2 separate regions of the Homo sapiens genome follow, and region 1 is linked to region 2. The links are contacts of gene promoters, found by promoter capture Hi-C in human tissues and cell types (Jung and others, 2019). All regions are on one chromosome and are shown on one strand. The core of a region is centred on a gene start or on the middle of the fragment in contact, and the rest is flanking DNA. Distances in the headings are between cores, read along the strand shown. Region 1 has its middle 35 kb from the start of ATP12A. Region 2 holds the start of AMER2 (APC membrane recruitment protein 2).

Region 1 (5,820 bases), core at 3,150-5,649, 530 kb after region 2:
ATGCCCATCAGTCAGGGACTGGCTAAATATGTTGTGGTGCTTGCATACCATGACACACCATGCAGCAGTTATGAAGACCAAGTTGGACCTACATGCACTCACATGGAAAGCTCTCCAAGACATTGTCAAGGGAAAACACATCAGGATAGGTCACATCACTGTGAGGAGCAGGTGCACACTCCCAGCTGCGATGCTCCATATTCCTGAATGTACGTCTGTAGAAACACACACAGATGTGTCTGAATGCATCCTCCTTCGAAAAGAAAACACATAAACTCATGACAGTTGTTAATGTGTGGGCAAAGGCATGTGCTTGACCACAGTCCTGCCTGCTCGGAAGGGTGGGAGCCTTGTCCTTGGAGAATTCTGAAGGGAATGAAGCTGAACCAGGTTCCTCCCTGGTCACCTGAGCCTGCTGCTGTCCCCAGGCCCAGCTTGAACTGGATTTCAGCCTTAGTTATCAAGTAGGTGGACCTACATTGGACTTTCTCTCTTCCCTATCAATTAAAATGCATTTAAGGCAGTAAATGCCCTTGCAAAGATAAAGAGATCTCCCTATGGCCTAAAATTATTTCTCACTGAGTAATATTTCCAGCCAAGACATAGACATCCCTTTGAGAGAGATATTTTAACATTTCCCTGTATGAGAATATCTTTAAAACCTTCATTGGATTAAACAATCAAGAAAAATCTGAAGTGGCCAGTAACATTAAAATACATTTATTAAAACTACAGGATATTGCAGGATCTGGCCAGCAGCCCACAGTGCAACGGGGCTTTTTCTTTGTTCCCAGGCGGATCGGCAGGTTGAGAAATAAAAGACACACACAAGATAGTGAAAGCTGGGTCCAGGGGGGTCACCGCCTTCTGGTCCTGCAATGCCGCCAATGCACTGGATATACCAGCATTTATTACTAAGTTTAGTGAGGGTGGGGGTCAGTTAGTGAGGGATTTAGGGTCGTTTGATTATGAGGTGAAATGGTCAAATGGGGATGAAGCAATTCTTTAACATAACATTGGTATGCAGAAGTACAGTATGCAGAGATGAGAATTTACAATATAGTGTGTGCGTCAGCAATTTCTAACAGAGCCTTAAAACAGAAACACAGTCTATCCATAACCTATGATTAGCCAATATTAATCAGCAGTAACAGTTGCAGCAAAAGCTGGTTGCAAACAATCCATAGAAACAGGACGTGAAGCTAGACAACCAGTTAGACCAAAAATTCTCAGAAGGGAGTATGCCTTAACCCTAAAGAGACCTGGAAGAGCTGTGGCAAGATGAGGGCATTTATAACCCTATCTTATCCATATGAACCGGTGCCCCTCATGTGTCTGTTTATAGGCTCTCCACAAGGGTTGCATTCCATTCCCAGAGCTATGAACATCTGCTTTTCTGGGATAGGAATCTTGGTGATGTGAAACCTCCCTGACTGCACGTCCATTCATAGGCTCTCTAGGGGGGAAGCACATCACGCTGTTGGCTCGTTCTGGCAGCCCAAACTGGCATTGTCTTTACACAATCCTGCAGGCAATTTTGTATTTACGATAATCAGGGGCATTTTATCTTTTATTCCGTAGCAATAGTTTCAGGGGGTCTCCCTACAACAGGACAATGAAAATATTGAAAAAAAAAAAAAAAAAAGACCATGCTGGGTGCAGTGGTTCATGCCTGTAATCCCAGCACTTTGGAAGGCTGAGATGGGAGGATGGCTTGAGCCCAGGAGTTCAAGACCAGCCTGGGCAACATGGAAAAACCCCATCCCTACAAAAAAAAAAAATTAGCTGGGCATGGTGGTGCATGCCTGTCCCAGTTACTGAGCTGGACCTGAGTCCCAGCTACTCAGGAGGCTGAGGTGGGAGGATCACTTGAGCCCAGGAGGCAGAGGTTTCAGTGAGCCGAGATCATGCCACTGCACTCCAGTCTGGGTGACAGAATGAGACTTTGTCTCAAAAAATAAAAATTAAATAACAATAATAAAAGAAAGATCAAAAATTATTTAGAACATACTGTATGGGAAACATGAATCATTCAATAAACGGTATAAGAAAAAATAGCTGTAGAATAAGCTAATTTTGATTCTCACCTCACTTCTGCTCAAACATATTTCAGATATGTTAAAATCACTATCAAAATACAACATAGCAAGCAAAATAAATCCAGAATTTTATTCAAAATAAAAAGAGCAATAGAGTTTATCTGAGGAGTGCAAAAAAAATCTTCAATGTAATCCATCACACTGGCAAATTAAAAGAAAAAATCATATTGTTATATCAGTAGATTTAGAAAATTCACTCAAATATCCCAACTCTGCTTATGATAAATAATCTTTAATTTATTAAAAGTGTATTGCCTCAAAACCTATAGCAAACTTCACACTGAATAGTGAAATCTTAAAAGAGGCTCATTAAAATCAGACACAAACATCCCTGTTATCACCTCCACAGTTTAATATTACACTGGGGATTCTGGCCGATGTAAAATTTATACTGTCAGATGAAATATCTATAAGGAAAATCCAAGAGAATCTCATTATGAACTGTAACTACTATTAAGTGAGCTCAACAGTTTGTTGGATAGATCCTTTACAAATTCAACAATAAAAGATATTTGGAAAATCCCCAAATGTTTTAAAATTAAGTAACACATTTCTTATATAACCATGGGTAAAAGAAGACATCACAAGAGAAATTAGAAAGTATTTTGTACCAATAAAAATGAAAATAAAAACATATCATTTGTCACAAAAATGTACATGAAATGTATATGCTGTATTATAGCAAATAATACAGCATATTAAAATCAGAATCAGTGACTCCATAGCACTTGGGTTTGAGGTCGAGTTGGGAACCATGTGCGGTGATGGAGACATTCTGTATTGTGACTGAGGTGCTGGGCCATATGGGTGTATATATTTGTCAAAACTCACCTGGCTCAGTGTGGTGGCTCATGCCTGAAATCCCAACACTTTGGGAGTCCAAGGCAGGAGGACTGTTTGAGTCCAGGAGTTTGAGACCAGCCTGGGCAACATAGTGACACCTTGTCTCTACAAAAAATAGAAAAAATTAGCTTAGCTGGGCATGGTGGCATGCACCTGTAGTCCCAGCCACTCGGGAGGCTGAGGCAGGAGGATTGCTTAAGCCTGGGAGGTTGAGGCTACAGTGAGCTGTGTTTGCAGCACTATACTCCAGAAAGGGTTCTTGAATCTCATGCAAGAAAGAATTCAGAGCGAGCCCATAGAGTAAAGCGAAAGCAACTTATTGGAAAAGTAAAGGAATAAAGAATGGCTACTCCATAAGGCAGAGCAGCCCCGAGGGCTGCTGGTTACCCATTTTTACAGTTATTTCTTGGTTATATGCTAAATAAGGGGTAGATTATTCATGCCTTCCCCTTTTAGACCATATGGTGTAACTTCATGACATTGCCATGGCATTTGTAAACTGTCATGGCGCTGGGGGGAGTGTAGCAGTGAGGATGGCCAGAGGTCACTCTCATGGCCATCTTGGTGTTGATGGGTTTTAGCTGGCTTCTTTACTGCAAACTGTTTTATCAGCAGGGTCTTTATAACCTGTATCTTGTACTGATCTCCTATTTCATCCTGTGACTTAGAATGCCTTAACTGTCTGGGAATCCAGCCAAGTAGGTCTTGGCCTCATTTTACCCAGCCCTTATTCAAGATAGAGTTGCTCTGGTTCACATGCCTCTGACAGTTGTGTAATTCAGTTGGTTATAATGAAGAGGAAATTATAATAGTCTTTGTAGAGATGGGTCTTTGATACTTAAAAGTACACTAATACAAAACTAAATAGTCAAATCAATATTTTATTACAAATATTTGACTTTTAATGCATGAAGTTTTTAAACTTTAACATTCTATCATCTGTCTTTAACATTCTTCAGATTGATAGCTCAGAAGTTCAACTCTTTCTCTTGTGAAAAGGCAAGGCCTTGAATGGTAGCTTTCTTCTTTACCTTTTGTTGTCTGCTGTTACTTTTATTAACTGTCTAAAATAAGTGAGATAATTTTCTTGAAAATTGGCAAATAAAATATCTTTTGAAACTGCCTTTTTATTCTGCATGCTTTTTATATCTCTATCTTTATTTGTGTCATGGGGAAGTGATATTTTACTACCAAACTACATGAAAGAGCTCTAATCAAGTAACTTAAAAAATGTTAAGTGCTTATCAGATTGGTAGAAGCTAGCTCAGATGCCTTTTAATTCACATGACTTGGTAATCTTCGGTAAAATAAACTTGGTAAATTTAATCTTAAAACTCTCCCCAGTAATTTAAAATTTTAAAGTCATGTTAAAAACCTGTTTTTTTCCCCCACTGGAAATTTGGGTTACTAAAATTTAAAATAGTTGGAGCGTAAAATATGCTTTTGGCAAAATTTTATAAAACACAAGGATGTCAATTTTCAAAAAAATGTAAGTTTTTTGGTTAAGAAACTAAGAGTAGCTTTATAATGAAAGAGAATTATACAGATAAAACTAAATGGATTAAAAAAGAAAGCAAGCCAGGGCAACAAAAGTTAAATCTGAACCCTGTGGTAAAGCCAAGTAATCATTAAAAACCAGAGGGCATAATGTAAATTGTTCCATTTTGTAGACTGGTATCATTCGGCTTCTTTAAAAAATCTTTAGTGGATTGTAAAAGCCACCACTTTTAAGGACAAAATTATTCATTTTAAATGCTACAGAATTTAAGAGCGTGTTTGGATTAATACAGGACCCACAGCTCACTACTGAACAATCACTGATGAGTATATGTGATCCAAATGAACAGAAGGTTATTCCTGAGAAAAGAATCAGCCTAGTGGACTGGATAAATCCAGTAAGGTCTGTTTGCCCTGAGAAGGGGACTGCCCAACTCTCTCTATAAAATACCAAGTGAAGCACCCCAGGTGAAGCATTAACATGCTTCATATGCAAGCCATGTTGGACTGGCTTTATGATAACTGAGGTATCTTCCCACCAAATATGCCTACTACTCAAGGTCATGGTAAATTTGGGGGTTAAGGGGCCCCCTTTTACATGAGTGCCCCTTGCACAGAATCATAGGACTGTTTAAGAAGCCTTATCCAATTTGCTGTCCCTCACAGGTCTTACAGACACAACTCCCTGCTGGGAACCCAAACTCTTTTCACCAGAAAAGGTAAAATAGACTGGGGGTGTAAAAGGGTTCCTGGGACCCGAACATAAAAACATAGAGTTTAATAGAATTATACAATTTATGATGTTTAAACAAGCTTTATGTAAGGTAGTTGTAACCCCTTTTACCTAAATGTCTTATGAAAATGGGTACTATGTCTAACTGGGGGACGTTTTCCTTTTCCTAGTACTGTAAAACTGAGGGCATGTAAATCTGCTCTTCTAGGAAATGTTATTTGAACACACTAAATAGGAACTAGTAAAATCGTCTAAGCCCACAAAGTATAGGGTAGGAGCTGGAGTGCTAATCGGGACAAATCCTCCACTGCGTAGCCCTTTGAGTGGAACATTTATCGGGGCCGATGACAAAGATCATGAGTACTTTTCAATGACAATGACTGAATTAGAGAATTTCCACTTGTTGGGGCATTTATTGCCTTGCCATGAAATATTAACTGAAGCTACCCCTATGCTAATAGAAATAATATTTCCCCAAAGAGTTCTGTGATAAAATAAAAATGGTTTACATAAAATCTTGCTACCTAATAAGAAGAGAGCCTCTTTCCTAGAACTAATTGTGAGGAGCTACTAAATGCTACAGTGCCTGATAGACAGCTCTCATGAGCTGTTTTGTTTGTAATTGGCATTTCCAAGGTAAACAAGCAT
Region 2 (6,070 bases), core at 2,200-4,699:
AAGGAGCGTCCACACATTTCTCTCCTGGCACCTGTGCACTTCACATTGTGGTCTCAGCTTCCATGAGGCCCATGGAGGGCAAGGACAGGCCTCAGATACAGGAAGACAGTGGACAGCAGGGGACTTTAAGACCAGTGGCTCTGAGCTTTTTTCTGTTCATCTCATAAAGAGGAACTTGGGCTGGACATTTGGGGGTTCTCACTGGCAGCACAGCTTCTCAAGTCCACCTTGGAGGATAATCCCAGGTGGGAATGGACATGAGCAGGGAGGTAGACATTTCAGCCTGGGGTGAGGTCAGGAGCTGGCCAAGTGGTCTGCAGATGGGAGGTGGTAGTCTCAACTCAGGTATTATTTCCAAACCGTATTGATGAACCATTATCCCTTTAAAGACCCACAGCAAGTTTAAGGTAAAGCTAGCAGCCTCCTTAAGCAGCAATGCTATGACATATGAGAAGTCCCTTAGCAGCAGCCACACAGCAGCTCAAAGGGAAGCTCCTCGGTGGCTCACCTAGGATAGAAAATTCCACCCAGTGCTGGGTGCGGTGGCTTATGCTTGTAATCCCAGCACTTCGGGAGGCCGGGACGGGCAGATCACTTGAGGTCAGGAATTTGAAACCAGCTTGGCAAACATGGTGAAACCCCGTTTCTACTTAAAAAAAAAAATTAGCTGGGTTTGTTGGCGTACACCTGTGATCCCAGTTACAGGCGAGGCAGAAGCAGGAGAATTGCTTAAGCCTGGCAGGCAGAGGCTGCAGTGAGCCCCGAGATCACGCCACTGCACTCCAGTCTGGGTGACACAGCAAGACTCTGGGAAAAAAGAAAGAAGGAAGGAAGGAAGGAAGGAAAGAAGGAAGGAAGGAAAGAAAGAAAGAAAGAAAGAAAGAAAGAAAGAAAGAAAGAAAGAAAGAAAGGAAGGAAGGAAGGAAGGAAGGAAGGAAGGAAGGAAGGAAGGAAAGGGAAGGGAAGGGAGGGAGGGAGGGAGGGAGGGAGGGAGGAAGGGAGGGTGGGAGCGAGGGAAGGGAGAGAGAAGAAGGGAAGGAAGGAAAGGAAGGAAAGGAAAGGAGAGGAGAGGAGAAAGAAAGAGAAAGAAAGGAAAGAAAAGGAAAGAAAGAAAAAGAAAAGAGAAGAAAGAAAGAGAAAGAAAGAAATTCCACCCAGTAAGCTTTGGGCAAAGGGCTGGACTGCTTTGAAGGCACCCTAAAAAAGGAAATGATGATGTGATGATGATGTGATGATGATGATGATGATGATGATGATGACGACGACGTTAAGTTCTCAAATGGTTCTTCCTGTGTTTCTCTTGTTTTTTTTTTTTCCTTTTGAGTACCATCCTCCAGAGAAGCTCACTACCTAGAGAAAAAAGCCTCAACAAAACGACAAATACTTCCTGGTGCCAACAAAGAAAAGCCCACACATGTCTTCCAGCAAAATCCACTTGCTGTTTGCATTTGTGATACGTCTTATTGTTTTGGAATGGCTTTTCCCTGAAATGTTTCCCCTCGGTCCTGTTCTCTATTCCTTTCTACTCTAATTTTCTATTCACTCCCAAGCTGGGGCAGGATGGGGGAAAAGAATGAAAGAAGAAACTATAAACAAAAATGGGAGTGCTTACGGTAAAATTATCTTCACTGTCATGTTCTGTCTCTCAGGGAAAAAAAAAATCACCATTTTGCTTTCTCCACTCTTGACTGTGAAGTTTAATATAAGGTATGGCTCAGTCTTTGTGATGATTCATAACCTGGCTCTAACCAACAAACCATTGGACCATCCTGCGCCTCATCTCTCTCCCCTACAGAGTCTCTCCTTACCTGTCTGGCTTTTGGGGTAAGTTCCTTTCAGCTGACTTCACCCTCGTTTTTCCCACTGTCTCTGTAACAAGGACTTTGAGTAGGACGCTGGAGGGTCCTCACTCACACCGCAGCCTCTACAGCTCCCATGCCCAGTGCCTTCAGATTGTTCCAGGGGTCCCTGCTTTCTTCTATCTCAGGGCCAGTAACTCACAGTGAGGGCACCTTCCGCAGGCTGAAGACAGCTTTGTCTCTTTCTCTTTGTTTGAGTGTTGATGTCCCAAAAGAATGATATCCATCCCAAAGTCCTCTATCAGATTTCTCCCAGGAGGCCCAAAGATTCTCATGTAAATTAGAGTCACATTTGACCTGTCCTGATGGGTGAATAAGCAGACCACTTTCTCCCAGTGGAGAAAGGGAGATTTTTTAATAGGCGACTTACTTTTCCTTGATCCCAGTCACAAACTCTTCCAAACTGACAGAGCTACATAGTAACCCACAAATCTAAGCAACTGTATGGGTGTGTGTGTGTTTGTGTGTGTGTGTGTGTATGTGTGTAAAATTGAGAGACTTTCTATTGTTCTTCAAAAGGTTGTAAAGACGTAACAAATGGGTTTCTCTTTACAGTTCCTTACACGTGGTCTCCCCAGAAAGCACTGAGGACTCTGATTCATCATGTCAAGCGGTCAATTAGAATCCGGGAAAGCCTCTCTCTGGCCTCACCTTACTTCCTGTACCAGGAGAGATGCTCATCAATAGTGAGAAAGAGTTGATGGGATTAGAGTCTGGAAGTGACAACCTCTCCTGAACCTGAACTCATTGATTTCTTCGTTTTACAAAACAGTGTTCTTGAAAAAAATAAACAAAAAAAGGAAATAATACAACTAAGAACTCCAAGGTCTAAATTTTAACCAGCTGTATCTCATAACAACAGAAGCTGCAATGGCCAACATACGTCATTTATAAAACGCCAACTTATGTGGATGGGGATTGGGATTTATTGGCCTAATGCAAAGAGCATATAAAAAATGAGTAGGGAAAAGACTACTGTTTGTGTATATATGTAATTATTACATATATTCTTAAATGATATTTAATAAATAATCAAATGATTAAATAATATATACTATATATACATGTTATATTTATATATGTATATGCTTCTCCAAATTTCTTTTTGCTAAAAAGCACTCAGCTGGGATTATGAAATCAGATGTCAAGATTAGAATATTAGCAGTCACTTTTTAAATCAGAACACAGAACAGATCCCTAGACTGAGCTGTTCCCAGAAAAAAGGTTTTCCCTCTCCCCAGACCAGGCAGGTAGGAATGTCTGCAGAGATCCCTGGACACACAGGGACCCCTGCCAAGCTTTTCCTGCTCTGTACATTGGGGAAGGGGACTACAAGTCAGCCCTGGTGGTATGGGGGAGGGGAGTGGTACCGCAGTGACAGGAATAATGCCACTGTCCTGCTGAGTGGGAAAGGAGAGGGCAGAACCCGGACTCGAAGGCCCACCTGTGGAGTGGGTCTGAGATTCCCAGCCTGTGTGTCTCGGTCAGCTTGTCTATTGTTATCAGATGTGGGCTGTGCCGCAGCATCTGTGACTTCATCCCGTGGTGGCTGGAGTCTGGGATAAAAGTCATGGTTGTCCCAAAGGTGCAGGCAAACTCCACCCCGGGGAGCTGTTGTGCTTGCATTGCTGGGCTGCTGATAGACTGATTGAGTGGTGGCGTGTACTTTTGTCACAAGAACCATAACCACAATGACAGCCACACAGCATGGACCTAGCGTGTGCTCAGCTCTGGACAAGACATGGATGTAGGCAGACATGCTTCCTGCCTGCTGGGCTTAGTGCACCAATGCTAAGGACAGACATGAAGGGCTTGGGAAAGGCATGAAGATGCAGGGAGTCTAGGAGAGAGGATAAGAAAAACAAGCATTTTGTGGTGGGTTGAATTGCGTTGTCGTTTTTAGAGGCATTTCGTGATCCATGGTTGCGCTCCCGTGAAGAGCGAGTCTAGAGAAGGAATCCGAAGGTGGGTGAGAGTTGAGGGAATTTGAATTCCATAATTACGACTCGAATTTCTGCAATCAGCTCGCGGCTGTGTTGCCTGCTCCTGCCACAAAAACGCCATGCAGCGCCGAGCCAAGTCGGATGGAAGTGGGTTAGGGTATTATATAAGCCCTTGCGGGAGGGAAGATGGTCTTTTATGTGTGTTTCTTTTGCAGCGGCGGCGGCGAGCGCGGCTCAGGTTGATTTAGAATACGGGTGACAGTGGCCTGGCGCGAGCCCACTGCTGACGAAAGCGGCTTATCCCGCGCGGTTTCCATGGAGACGAGCCGGAGCCGCGGCGGCGGCGGGGCTGTCAGCGAGCGCGGCGGAGCTGGCGCGTCCGTGGGGGTCTGCAGGAGGAAGGCGGAGGCCGGGGCCGGGACCGGGACCCTCGCGGCAGACATGGACTTGCATTGTGACTGTGCCGCCGAAACGCCGGCCGCCGAGCCGCCGTCGGGGAAGATTAATAAAGCTGCCTTCAAATTATTCAAGAAGAGGAAATCGGGTGGCACCATGCCCAGCATTTTTGGGGTCAAAAACAAAGGGGACGGGAAAAGCTCGGGTCCGACGGGGCTGGTGAGGAGCAGGACCCACGACGGACTTGCCGAGGTGCTGGTGCTGGAGAGCGGCAGGAAGGAGGAGCCGCGCGGCGGGGGCGACAGCGGCGGGGGCGGCGGGGGGCGGCCGAACCCGGGGCCCCCCAGAGCCGCAGGGCCCGGCGGGGGCTCCCTCGCCAGCAGCTCGGTGGCCAAGTCGCACAGCTTCTTCTCGCTGCTGAAGAAGAACGGGCGCTCGGAAAACGGCAAGGGAGAGCCTGTGGACGCGAGCAAGGCCGGCGGCAAACAAAAGCGGGGGCTGCGGGGGCTGTTCAGCGGCATGCGCTGGCACAGGAAAGACAAGCGGGCCAAGGCGGAGGCCGCGGAGGGGCGCGCGCCCGGGGGCGGCTTGATCCTACCCGGCTCGCTCACCGCCAGCCTGGAGTGCGTCAAGGAGGAGACGCCCAGAGCCGCGCGCGAGCCGGAGGAGCCCAGCCAGGACGCCCCGCGAGACCCAGCAGGTGAGCCCGCAGGGGGAGAGGAGGTGCCCGCCCCCGCCGACCGCGCCCCAGCGCGGAGCTGCCGAGAGGCAGAGGGCCTCGCGCACCCCGGCGACACCGGCGCCCGGGGAGAGGACGCCGCGGGGCATCGGCGCGCCGAGCCGGGGCCCGGGGAGGTCCGCACGGCAGAGGACGCTTCCAGGACGGGGGCCGTTCCCGTAAAGACGGTCCCCCTTGTCGACTCCGAAGGCGGCAGCGGCCGGGCGCCCGCCGCCCCAGACCCTGCCTCTGTCGATCCACCCTCAGACCCGTCGGCAGATCGTATTTGTTTGATGTTTTCTGACGTGACTTCACTGAAAAGCTTTGACTCTCTTACAGGCTGTGGAGATATTATTGCAGACCAAGAGGAAGAGGCAGGTCCCAGCTGTGACAAGCATGTCCCCGGGCCAGGCAAGCCGGCTCTGTCTAAAAAGAACCCCGGCGTGGTGGCCTACCAAGGAGGCGGGGAAGAGATGGCCAGCCCGGACGAGGTGGACGACACCTATCTACAGGAGTTCTGGGACATGCTCTCCCAGACCGAGGAGCAGGGACCCGAGCCCCAGGAGGGCGCGGCTAAGGTGGCAGCTGCGCTGGAAACCAAGGTGGTGCCCGAGACCCCCAAAGACACCAGGTGTGTGGAAGCGGCCAAGGACGCGTCCTCGGTCAAGCGCAGGAGGCTCAACCGGATTCCCATCGAGCCCCATCCTAAGGAGGAGCCCAAGCACCCGGAGAAGGAGCAGCAGGAAGGCGTCCCCAACAGCGACGAGGGCTACTGGGACTCCACCACGCCAGGCCCAGAGGAAGACAGCTCGAGCAGCGGGAAGAAGGCGGGCATCCCCCGGGATAGCTACAGCGGGGACGCGCTCTATGATCTCTATGCTGACCCGGACGGAAGTCCAGCAACCCTTCCTGGAGGGAAGGACAACGAGGAGACGTCCTCCCTGTCCCGGTTAAAGCCCGTATCTCCAGGCACCATCACCTGTCCACTGCGAACACCAGGCAGCTTGCTGAAGGACTCTAAGATCCCTATTAGCATCAAGCACCTGACCAACCTTCCATCTAGCCATCCCGTGGTGCACCAGCAACCCTCCAGGAGTGAGATGCCCAGAACAAAAATCCCGGTTTCCAAAGTGCTGGTCCGCAGAGTCAGCAAC

Evidence for each region. The method cuts DNA at HindIII sites, captures the fragments that hold promoters and counts their contacts. A contact is called where the count stands out against the background at its distance.
Region 1: a fragment that was not itself captured here is called in contact with the fragment with the promoter of AMER2 in region 2 in 1 of the 25 tissues and cell types used here (lymphoblastoid cells).

What each region holds. Positions count from the first base shown.
Region 1 is chr13:24,642,063-24,647,882 of GRCh38, reverse strand. No RefSeq gene overlaps it. Among named protein-coding and RNA genes, the nearest start is that of ATP12A, 35 kb to the left of the region's middle. The HindIII fragment of the contact is 4,818 bases long and covers 1,991-5,820 here.
Region 2 is chr13:25,169,667-25,175,736 of GRCh38, reverse strand. AMER2 (APC membrane recruitment protein 2) reads left to right here and starts at 3,449. Exons shown (of 1, transcript NM_152704.4): 1 at 3,449-6,070. The coding sequence starts at 4,118. It overlaps LINC00463 (long intergenic non-protein coding RNA 463), which reads left to right. Exons shown (of 4, transcript NR_120428.1): 3 at 1,650-1,824; 4 at 2,415-2,913. RefSeq lists an enhancer at 1,391-2,590 and a silencer at 4,870-4,959. The HindIII fragment of the contact is 4,196 bases long and covers 2,161-6,070 here.